2 separate regions of the Homo sapiens genome follow, and region 2 is linked to region 1. Evidence: promoter capture Hi-C in 16 types of primary human blood cells and fetal thymus (Javierre and others, 2016). All regions are on one chromosome and are shown on one strand. Each heading gives the region's core, a stretch centred on a gene start or on the middle of the fragment in contact. The rest is flanking DNA. Distances are from core to core; before and after follow the strand shown. Region 1 holds the start of TFAM (transcription factor A, mitochondrial). Region 2 overlaps PRKG1 (protein kinase cGMP-dependent 1).

The links. The method cuts DNA at HindIII sites, captures the fragments that hold promoters and counts their contacts. A CHiCAGO score of 5 or more calls a contact.
Region 2: a contact is called between a fragment that was not itself captured here and the fragment with the promoter of TFAM in region 1, in 1 of 17 cell types (fetal thymus). The highest score is 6.6, in fetal thymus.

What each region holds. Positions count from the first base shown.
Region 1 is chr10:58,384,160-58,390,423 of GRCh38, reverse strand. TFAM (transcription factor A, mitochondrial) reads right to left here and starts at 5,014. Exons shown (of 7, transcript NM_003201.3): 1 at 4,776-5,014; 2 at 4,086-4,204; 3 at 2,164-2,234; 4 at 1,605-1,754. The coding sequence starts at 4,876. RefSeq lists enhancers at 4,614-5,270, 5,464-5,563 and a silencer at 4,954-5,333. The HindIII fragment of the contact is 8,486 bases long and covers 1-6,264 here.
Region 2 is chr10:51,703,570-51,709,833 of GRCh38, reverse strand. All of the region lies in intron 3 of PRKG1 (protein kinase cGMP-dependent 1), which reads right to left. Among named protein-coding and RNA genes, the nearest start is that of CSTF2T, 7.1 kb to the right of the region's middle. RefSeq lists an enhancer at 58-558. The HindIII fragment of the contact is 5,928 bases long and covers 1-5,244 here.

The DNA of each region.
Region 1 (6,264 bases), core at 3,765-6,264:
CTTGACCAAATCACTGCATGCTTCCACCACAACCCAAGAACAATGGACTATTTGTTTAATAATCTTTCATCTCACTCCATTCCCTGAATGTCTCCACCTTTAAAGCTCCATAGTTGTGTTAAATTCATTTTACTAGTTACCAAAAGGGAAGAAACTGTGGAAAAGAATACAAGTATCCCTTACTATCAGTTTAATTTCTGAGTTCAGGGAGTGATATTGCATTATTATACTTAAGTTTCTGAATTTGGATAGTAAGTAGTACCTGTAATTTACAAAATTCTGTGGCTCTTAATAGCAATTTGGCTATAATCAGTAACAAATTCAACTTTTATTCATAACTGTAAGTAGGGCTCCTCTGATTTAGTTTCTTCTTCCTGAATCTCTCAGTCACTGAGTATTGAAACTACTATAGACTCCAAGCACTTTACAACTTAACTATTTCCCTCTTTGTTTCTAGAGCTATCACTAGGGATTTCTCTCCTGAGGGTTTTACTTGTAACTTCCTAGTCCTCACACTTCTCACTTGATCTCTGAACTAGTTGGTACTGGGAGTCAAGAACAATTACAAAAGAAAGAGAGAATGACAAGGGAAACTTTATAAATGTCCAATTCATGCTTCTGGTCCTCTCTACTCTTAGCACAGTGGGCTGGGTGCATTAAGGAGGAAGGGAGAATGAAAGAGGGAGGATATACTTTAGTAATCACTCTTCCAAACACCATCCTTATGTAGACACTCTATTTTTCACTCTTAGTATCTTTCTGGCTCCCTTTTACTGATTAGATCAGCCACCCTAAAGTAGCGGCATCATGGTCTCGAAACTGGGCGGGTCCTCAACCCTAGTGCTAGGACAGCTTAAAACATTAGGGTCAGGGAAAGACGTATTGGCATCCCACATTCAAGGCTGTAATCTAGTCTTTCAAAGAAATAGTTTTAACTCTGATGATCATTTGTAATAGTGTAGGTACACGACTAGCAAACTGACCACCTCAAAACTAATACTGGCTCTATGAAAAAAATGTATAACTTTCAAATGATGACATTTATGTGAATTAATACATTAAGCTGGGAACTACAAATTTTGAACCATGTGAGGTTTTTAATAGTTATTTCTTTGAAGAAAAAAAAAGAATTCCATCCTAAAGGCACTTAATTGATTAGATAAATTGGCATTTTTCCGATGTGTTAATGAATTAATGCAGTCTACTCAGCAATATTCCATATCAAACTCACCATAATCTATAGAATAATTCAAATTAATACGTTATTCTAAAGAAGACTCAGAAGCAAAGATTCTTGATACTCCTGGTTTGACTGTTTCATAACTCTGTTCCTGTAGTTTCCATTACTGTTCTACGAACTGTACACCTTAAATGTGGATACATCTGCAAGTAGCAACAAGGATTTCCAAACAGACTCAATGGCAAGTGGTCCTAGTGGCTATCTCACTTTTCATAAGAGAACTATCCCACTTCTGCCTAACTGAAGAATACTTGATGACATTCTACCATATTTTATTTGCCTATTAAGAGAAAACTACCTATATTCATAGTTATATAAATCTCAATTCTTTACCATAAGAAAAAAGTATTTCAATGATACTCACTTTTTTTTTTGTCATAGCTTTCCTTTTTAAATGTTTGTCCATGATTTCTTTTTCCAAAGACATAATCTGACTTGGAGTTAGCTGTTCTTTAAATCTGCTTATCTCTTCTTTATATACCTGCCACTCCGCCCTATAAGCATCTTGATATATCTATAAATAAAAAACCCAAGTAAGTCAACAAACCATTGCTGGCAAATTCAACATAGCACATGCCAGGGAAAGGCAACTGCATGACTTCAGACAGACAGATTTTATCACCAGGTGGAAAATGTGCTCTGGGATGAGATGTATATGGATTAAAACATACATTTTCCTTATATATACTAATCAAGGTGAGAGTTTAGTAATCAGCTTCCATTTTCAAACTACTGCCACTTCTTCACCTCCACCCCATACATCCATATTCTCATTATTTATGCAGATGAGAAGACATAAAGTTTCTTTGTAGATAACAGATTATTTTTTAAAAAGTCTGATCCATCTGGTCCTTTAAAGGACATGACAATTGCTCCTAACTGCAGAATAACTGGTCAGCAATGTTGAAAACTTATGTGCTTACTTTTTTCTTTGAATCAGGAAGTTCCCTCCAACGCTGGGCAATTCTTCTAATTAGTTCTGTAGTTTTTGCATCTATGGAATGAAATAAAAAGAAAAAAGATGCCACAATTTTACCTCTCAGGATTAATTTCTAAAGATATCCAGGAAAGCACAATCCATACCACACATAACTTAATATAATGATTTAACTTTCCTTTATCCAACTAATTTAAACGTAAGTAATTTATCCAACATTATCAAAAGTCTATTATCTAACAACTAAGGAGTATACCATATACCACCAGAAACAGTCAACAGTTTGATTACTAGGATTTTTTTTTTTTTTTGAGACAGGGTCCGTCACCCAGGCCATCACCCAGGCTGCAGTGCGGTGGTACAATCTTGGCCTAATGCAACCTCCACCTCCTGTGCTCAAGTGATTCTCCTGCCTCAGCCTCCCGAGTAGCTGGGACTACAGGTAGGCGCCATCATGTCCAGCTAATGTTAGTATTTTTTGTAGAGACGGGGTTTCGCTATGCTGCCCAGGCTGGCCTCAAACTCCTGAGTTCAAGCAATCCATCTGCCTCAGTCTCCCAAAGTGCTGGGATTACAGGCGCGAGCCACCACACCAGGCTGATTACTAGTTTAAGAAGCTGGATGATCAATTGCTTCAAGTTTTTTACTTCCCTTCCATATTTCAAGCAAAACACTTTTTCAAGTCTTTGAGGAATTCCTAAATTTATAAAAGCTAACAACAAAATACATTCTCGATCCATATAACACAGCCTCGTATTTCAATAACAGAAATATCATTTGGAAACAAGCTATTCGAAATTCAATCTGTTATTCTCCACTTCCTTCTTCATCTTAACCGGAATGATGGCGTGCAATTAATTGATTTTTAAAAATACCTGTTAGTACTAACTCTTACATTTAAAAGATGTGGGTACTTAAGCATGTCTCTGAAACTAACTCCTTACCTATAATGTGAGCTTTTTTTTAAAATTATTATTGTTTTTTGAGACAGGGTCTCGCTCTGTCACCCAGGCTGGAGTGCAGTGGAGCAGTCATGGCTCACTGCAGCCTCAACTTCCTGGGATCCAGTGATCCTCTCACCACAGCCTCCCAAGTAGCTGGGACTACAGGCACTGCGCCCCCATGCCCACCTCATTTTTGTATTTTTGGTAGAGACAGGATTTCCATGTTTCCCAGGCTGTTCTCGAACTCCTGGGCTCAAGCAATCCACCCATCTCGACCTCCCGAAGTGCTGGGATTACAGGTGTGAACCACCTCACCCAGCCTGATGTGAGCATTTTTTATTCTCGCCGAGAGGCTTTCTAGAGAGTCAACAAACATCCTACCTGGAAATGTTTTTTTTTTAGGAACCCAAGACAAGAAAGGATTTATCCTTTACAACCCACCATCCCCTTGGCAAGGTCGAGGTCTGAATCAAAGAACCAGAGTGGCTCTGAACTCCTATGATGAAAAGGTTTATCCTTTCTTATCTTGAAAGCTCTTGAAATTAGCAGTAAATTGCATAGAACTTTACAGTTCTACAGAACTTACAGTTTATGGATGCTTCCACAGAAGTTGCAACTTTATTAACAATTCCCTGAGCCAGAAAAAGGAGGAGCTAGGCAAGAGAAAATAATTCATCAGTGGTCCTCTAGACCAAAGGCAACAAGGCCCCAAATTCAGCTTTTTTATCCTCTTCCTAGGGTGCTTTCTACACTATACGTTATTTTTAAAATACCATTTACTAGTTCTCATTTATATTTAAAGCATTTCCATTTGGTATAAAATAGAACTTCCTATTTTACAGACATCAAATGATTGTTCCTGCAGTCACTGAATGCTTTAGCACTGCAATTCAACATTGGTATTTAACTGCTTAATGGCATTTTTATTACATGAGAAAAGGGTATATGCCCCAAAACTCCTTACCTGGGTTCTGAGCTTTAAATATGGGTAGTTGTTCTTTAGAAAATCGAAGGTAAGAACTTACAGGTTTCTTTGGACAACTTGCCAAGACAGATGAAAACCACCTCGGTAAATACACAAAACTACATATAAACAAAAAGAAAATAACCAGTGTCAGATGTTTAACTGTCAATATTCACATGTATATGAACACAGATCCCAAATAAGAAATGTCATCAAGATACTATGTATCCAACGCCTTCAACAAGAATGCTAGAGACTTATTAAAACCCTGTCCTAAACGGAGGGGAGCGTCTGCAGGACTGAAGTCTCAAAGCCCTTACCTCCTAGGAAGGGCAGGGAGTGAAGGAAAGCGTCTATACTCCAGCTCCTGGGCCCCGCCTCCTCAATGCCTAGATGATGGCCGGAGACTCGGCGCGAATTCGCAGAGGAGGCGGAAAGGATCCAAAGCTGGACAGTGAGGAGGGATGGGAGAAGCGAGTGGAGGGTAGCAAGAAGGTACGGCGTATTAAGAGAGTAAATAAAGGCCTGGTCTCAAGGCCACCGTCCCCTTGGCAAGGTCGCGGTCTGAATCAAAGAACCAGGGTGACTCTGAACTCCTAGGAGGGGCAGAAAGTGAAGGATAGGGTCTACATTCCAACCCCGGGACGTCCTGGGCCCTGCTGCCCCTAGGGCACAGGCAAGCGGGCCTACCTGAAGGGGGAGCGCAGTCGACTTCCACAGCCGGTGCACAGCTCTGCTCCAGACCTTCCCAGGGCACTCAGCACGCCCCACATGCTTCGGAGAAACGCCATCGCTCCGGTGGATGAGGCAGTGACCCGACCCCAATCTCGGAGAGCCTCCTGGCAATACACAACTCCAGCAATCACAACTGGAACCCGCGTGCGACCCTCCGGCGTGTGTTATCATGCCCGCCACTAGCGAGGCACTATGGGAAATCTGCTAACATCCGGTCGGTAGATGGGGGCGGGGCGGGGCGGAATTGGCGCAGGCGCGGGAGAGCGTACCCCGGTGGGCGGCCTTGCGGGGGAGGAATAAGAGCCGCGGAGATGAAGGGAAACCGCAATCCTCTAGCCTGCGGAGGGCTCTGGCTTCGAGGCGGCGCTGTTGAGCCACCTCTGTCCCCGGCCGCCCGGAGCAGTGGGTTCCTCTGCCGGGCCAGGAGGGTGATGGAGGGACCGCGGCGGCGGCCTCACCCCAACCCGGCGTTGGCCGGTGTCCGCCCGTGACGGTCACAAGGGCTGTACGTAACAGACAGTCCTGCATCCAGGACCCCGAGGTCCGATCGGCGGCTGCTGCGCGCCCAGCGGAGCGTCTCAGTTCAAGCCAGGGCTGGAGCTCGGAGTTCAGAAATAGTAACGGGAGAGGCGGGGATTCGCAAACCTAAAAATGCAGATTCCAAGGCCTTACCGCAGAGCTTAATTCCGTGTGTCTATGTGGGGCCCATTAATCTTCATTTTAGCGAGTTCCCCAGAATTTAACAAGTTCTAATGTCGGTGGTCTTGAGACCACATTTAAAGCAATATAGCTTTAGACTGTTTATTCTACCATCTACTGCAGTCTTTCAGTCTGGCCTCCAGCTTGCTTAATTTGAGCAGAGGAAACTGGCTAGTTGTCCACAGTCGCTAGTCTCAATTCTTCTAGTTCCAGTATTAACATTAACGTCTTGACTTGGGAATATTGCATTCCCTCGTTAAGATTCAGTTTCCCCCTCTGCAAACGAGGATGTTAGACTAAATCAGTTTTCCCAGCCAAAGCCCTGAGAACGTGTGACAAGTATGCCTTGAGACATTGATGTGTCAAAAATTGCTGTATAATTTTTTTATTTGTGTTATAGAAATACCATTTTCTGTATAGGCAATGGCATGAAAAAGATTAGGAAGACCTAAAGATACCTAAGGGTCCTTCCAGCCCTTAAATACCAGTTGTTTCAGAGCTAACCACCTTCTGAGACAGCCTTTCTTCTGTTGGATAGCCGTAATTGTTAGAAAATTCTTACCAGTGTCATATTGAGCTGACAGTCTATTTACCTTTCTGTAACTATGAAAACATTGGCTCTCTGGAAGTAGGACTAAGCCTACTTCTTCTTTTAAGCGGTAATAACCACTTCCCTTTTATAGACTCCCAGGGTTGAAAGGGACCTTCCAAGTCATCTGTTCAAACCTCCCATTCTGGCATGGAA
Region 2 (6,264 bases), core at 1,031-3,530, 6.7 Mb after region 1:
GCAGACACCTGCTGTCAGGAGGATTTCCCAGAACCTCTCCTCCCTGTGGAAGTCCTGCTGATAAGAATGAAGACCTGCAACTATTACCCAGTCCTGGGACCTTGGCAGCAAACTCCAGACCACTTGGCAGCAAACTCCAGACCACTACATGGGCAGAAAAATGTTGGCACTTTCTTTATTCTCCCTGCAGGCATCAGCTTCTCTTTCCTAGACCCCTCAAGGGCTATGGACCAACACAGGCAATTCCATTTTCAAGGCTAACAAAAGGCTGAGCTCTAGAGGAATAGGTCATTTGCACTTCCCTGTTTTCCTGCAGGCACTTGTTTTGTTCCCCAGAGCCAGGATGGAATTGACAAACACCTGGAGGCCAGAGAGAAAAGTTTCTCATTGTACTGCTCTGCAAGAACGTATACACAGCTATTTCAGCATAAATGTCAGATGATAGTGATAAAGATGATAATAACTGAAAGAATTGTTGCTATGATTTTGTCATTAAACTGTCAAGAAAAATGGTCAATATTTTTATATGAAGGATGGAAGAGTTTGATATTTTAAAAGTACAGTGTATTCACCTTCAAGAAGATCACGCATTATATATGGTGGGAACTTTCTAAAAACTGTGAATTGGTGGCTAAACATTCCTCTACTGTTTTATATTAGACCATTTTTCTAACTGGAAGTCCACATTTAAACATTTCTAAGAAAATGATCTATTTTTGGAAATAATGTTTTATGTTTTGTAGAGATTGAGAGAATGATTTAGAGGAAGGTTGTGGACAAACTTTCTCTGGCAGAATGTGCATTGGAAATGGCTGTCTAGCTCAAAACAGCCCTTTTAACTGCTCCCTTCCTTCATAAGAGTAGGTCACCAAAGTATTTTTGGAATTCATGGTCAACCAGGATAGACATTCAGCAGTAACCAGTATGGCTACACCAGTGGTACAGGATGATAGATGCTCCCTCAAGCCCCTCAAGTCAGTCTCCTGACCTCTCCATGACCTGGAAGGTAAAGGAGGTTAACAACTGGCACCGCAAAGGTCTGTAGGCTTCCTCCTGCTCCAGCTGACTACCCGGCCCCAGCAGACATAGACTAGTAAATGGTCTCACTATCACTCTGGCTCCAACCTCTTAACAATGCTGAATTGAATCACAGATACACACCAGAATAAAGCTGGACCTTCAGATTCCCAGTTCCAGAAAACTGGAATGACAATGGACTAGAGAGAGAAATAGGAGATCTGATCCTTCAACAGAGGAAAACCACCACAAATGTACAAAGAGATGCAGCGAAGAGGGAGTGAGGAAGGGAGTGGGAGACAAAGATTTTGAGAGAGAGAGAAAGAGATGGGAATAGAGTATTCTGAATGCCAACAATTACCCATTTTTTCTTTTCCTAGAGGTTACTGCATTACTGCTTGTTACGGAGTCAATTATGTCCCTCAAAATTCATATGTTGAAGCCCTAGCCCACAATGTGACTGTATTTAGAGACAGAGCCTCTAAAGAGATAATTATAATTAAATGAGGTCATACGTGTGGACCCCTCATCTAATACAATGGGTGTTCCTACAGGAAAAGGAAGAGACACCAGAGTGCATGCACACAGCAGGTGACGCGAGGACACTGAGGAGGCAGCCATTTGCAAGCCAAGGAGAGAGGATCAGGAAAAACCTAACCTACTTGCACCTTGATTTTGAACTTCCAGCATGTAGGACTGTAAGAAAATAAATTTCTGTTTAAGTCTGTGGTATTCTAATACAGCAGCCTAGCAGATTAATTTCTGTGGGTTCTGAGAGATAACAAAATGTCATGAAAATAACCACCACTTCCTTTGCTTACCTTGGTTGGAATTGGTTTCTGTACGTGTACCATAAAATGCTAGCTACTACATTCCTATAAACATTAGATTTTAGGTTTTCTAATTTCTAACTCAAGAATCCAGAGTTAGAAGGTAAATTTAAACTGGAATTCTTGACATAATGTTTTTCAAGGATCATTCAACTGTGATAATGAATCTAAAATATATTCTGTTAAACTGACATTTGTTGTTTTCAACAGTCTGAGCCTGGAATCAAATGTTTTCAGAAAGGCCTCTTTCCTGTAACTTGGTACAAATATAGGCACATTCTCAGACCAACCTAGCCTCAGAAGAGATATACTAGCCAAATTTCTGAAGTGAGTGGCAGTTTACACATTTCTCTGAAGTGAGGTGTTGTATTGTTCCGGTCACAGGAAAAAAAAAAAAGATTCATGCGTTGTTCCACTTAAATAGGGTATCTTTATTCAGACCTAGTTACAGGGCTTGTACTTTTCCACAGTTTATGAGGATACTTCTGCGTTCCTTCGGGTGACAGCCTGAAGCACGAATAAGGGAGCTCTGCTTCTTGTCTAATTAGCTATGCCTTTCTATGTTTGAATAAATGGCCTACGTCTGCCAGTGCACACTTAAAAGTAGTAGTCCTAATATCACCCTGAACAGGACTATGCGCTCGAGTAGGTACCTTGTGTGGCAGAACGATGTGGTGTTAAATAAGCCTATATCCTCCACAGTCAAAGTTCAGGCAGGCCCTTTTAATAAAAATGGACAAGTGGAATTCTAGCCGACTACATATTTGAAGAGTGCATTTCATGGTTTAGTACAAGAACCTAATGTGCACCAAGATGATCGGTAAAATTCTCATTGAAGTATTCTATGGGATCAAGCCTAAAAAGTATCCATTTCAACTACAAATCTACCAAAGGCTAAAATGGCAGTGTTAAGGTTGTACAACTTGAAAATAATATAATCTGACAAGACCATTAGTACAAGTACAAGCCTTTCAATAATAAAAATAAAGATATAGGCCCCCAAATAAATAGCATCAGACTAAAACTTGTGTCTCTTTCCACATAAGATGCTACTTCATCTACTATTACTAGATAACCAATGTAGATTAATAATGACCATACAATGTAAGGAATAATAAAAATATAAGTATATCATGTATTCCACACAATAATCCAATACAGGTGACATTACTCTCATTTAAAAGATGTGGAAATGGAACCACAGAGAGGCGAAGTAATTTGTACAATGCCACAAAATTACGTGTTGAACTAGGTAGCCAATCTAAGTCATTCTGACATTAAAATCTCTGTGCTCTTAATTCCTTCACTCTACTGCCTTTTCTAAGTGCTGAGAGTATAGTTTGGATGAGAAAAATCTGAATATCTAAATCCTTTTACAAGCTAGATCAGTAACTGGACATTTGAGCCTGGTCTAATTTCTTTCCTTTCCTGGGCGTCATTTTCTTTTCTTTATCTATTAAAAAAAAAAAAATTGGGCTGGACTTCGCAATCCCTTCCAGGGAGAACATTTGGTTCTGTTCAACCTCAAGTCCAGAAATGGCAGACTCCCAGCAGCCCCAAATTCATGTAATCTGCACTTGCCAATAACAGTGATTCATCCTGTGTATAAGTAAATGAAATTCAGGGCCAGGCATTGTGGCTCACTCCCAGCACTTTGGAAGGCCAGCGCAGGTGGAGCATTTGAGGTTAGGAGTTTGAGTACATGAAATTTGCTTTTTATTCCTCTGTACATTGTTTCATATTAAATACACTAAGCATTTTGGGAAAAAAAGTTATATACCAAATTAATTTGAGCTCTTTCATTTTATGGAAAAATGCATGCTTTAACTAACTGGATGCTTTATAAAAGTCTTTAGGTGAAGTTTAACTATAGTCCTGCAAATTGAAAAAGGAAACATTTTCTCTATTGCTTCAGTCTTTATACCTCACAGTCCATCTGTTACCACAGCACTGATTGTGATGTCACAACTGCAATTAGTTACACTCAGAGACAAACAGGAAAAATGCCAAGGGAGATGGTGCCCAGGCGTCAATAACTTGTGATTACTGTACTACTTATGAAATAGAAAGTTCAAATTCAGGAGACCTGCTTTCAGGTTGTCGTTATGCCACTTAGTAGCTATGTATCCTTAGGCAACTCATTTAATAGAACAATGATTTATGAGCTTGATTTCTTAAGCCAAATGGTTTGTGTTCAAATCCTCGTTCTGCTAGTTGACATAGGCACACTAGTTAACTTCTCTGTGCCTCTGTTCTTTACCTATAAATTGAGGAACTATGACTGCCTATCTTCAAAAGGTTGCAGAAAGAATAAAATATTATATTATATAAAGCATTTATCAAAGAGCCTTCTCCCTACTAAGTGCTCAGAGTTTGCCTTTATAAAGCATCTGTATTTTGAGTGAGTCCATTGTTAGGTAAAGTTCTACATAATAACTCTCTGAGTTTCTTCATTGTTAAAAATCAGGAAACAATTGCATGTACTTCATAAGACTGTTATCAAGACTAAATGTGGGAACCCAGAGAAAAGTATTTTGTAAGCAAAAGGCACTAAATTATCATTTGGTTAACATCTATATTTTGTTATTGTAAGATGATCTTGTATTAATTTAAAAATATTTACTAAGTGCTTGGAATATAAAAGGCACTGGACCAGGCATTGTGGAGAATATCAATCAGATATGGATTTTATGGTAATACAAGAATATTGATACCTCTAATATAGAAGATAATGAGTACCAAACCAGTACTCTAAATGGAAGTCTTTGAGGTGAGCATTGAAGAACAGAAAGATTTAAACATGGGGGAGGGAAGAGAAGAAGAGGAAAAAAGGAAGCATCCCTGACAAATAGTATCACAAAAAGCTAGGAGGTGAAAAAATACAGATCATGTATGATAAAAAGTGAGTGGTACAATTTAGCCAGAGGAGAATATGTGAAGGGATGGAGAGAAGTAATGAGAATGAAGCTACGTAACAGAGTGTGTTATATGTAGGAAGAACAACCACCACAATTTAGATTAAAAGTTATAAGGTATTAAAAAAGAACAGCCTAGGTAGAAAATATATAGAAAAGGATTAGATAAGTTTGGTATTCTTAAGCCTCTGCCATTATTATTCTATGTTCATGTTTCAGGGGGTGGTGAAGGAAGCCTACTGACTCTCACATCAAGTTCACATTCATGAATCTGAACTTCAAAACCTTTTATAATCTGTCCCAGAAGCCCATCTTTTGTCACACTCCTCACCAACTCTCTTGGTTTCCTCTGAGGCCGTAAAAAACACCAGGTCCCAATTTCTTGCGTTGGCTATTACTAGCTTCTGGTTTATTTTCTTCATCTTCTACCTATCTATGCCAGATTATAACCCTTCCCTAAATCTCATTTCCATCAGAAAGCTTTCCTTGATAATCTAAAACATATCACTCTCTTCCATCTCTACATACTTTATTGCATATCCATTTCATCAAATGGCAACATGGAAGAACTATCACTGACCTAGGAATAAAATGACAAGGGTCCTGGCAGCATGTCTTGTCTTTGATTTGAGGCACGTTATTCAATGCCACAGGCTCCGTCCTTGGTAAAATGAAATATTTGTGAATTAGCAAACTTTAAAGTCATTTCCTGTCATTCATTCAACAAATATATAATGAACATCCACCTGTGCTGAGCTCTATCCCAGGTGCTGAGGATACAGAGGTGAAAACAAAATATCTATCTATCTATCTATCTATCTGTCTGTCTGTCTGTCTATCTATCATCTATCAGCTACTATACTATAATTGCATTCTTTTTATTTAATTTAATTTTATTTATTTATTTATTTAATTTTTTTTTTTTTTTTTGAGACAGTTTCACTCTGTTGCCCAGGCTGGAGTGCAGTGGTGCGATCTCAGCTCACTGCAACATCCACATCCCGGGTTCAAGCAATCCTCAAACCTTGGCCTCCAAATAGCTGAGATTAGAAGCATGCACCACCACACCTGGTTAATTTTTGTATTTTTAGTAGACACGGGGTTTCACCATTTCACCATGTTGGCCGGGCTGGTCTTGAACTCCTGACCAAATGATCCACCCACCTCCGCCTTCCAAAGTGCCAGGATTACAGGCGTGAGTCACTGTGCCTGGCAACTATGATTGCAATCTTATAATGTAGTGGTTCTCAAAATTGAGCTTGCATTAGAATTACCTGGAAAACTTGTTCAAAGATTTCTCTGTTTCTGATGCAATAGATTTGGAGTAGGGCCCCAAACTTTTAATTTCTAAGATGTTTCCTGGTGATGCTGATGCCACTGAACCAAGGACCACATTTACAGACCTTCTTTTCTGGCAGACTATTGTTTTCACTGCTGTATTGTCAGTGCTTGAAATAAATATTGATGGAATGAAATAATAAATTTGAGGCACTTAGTTAACT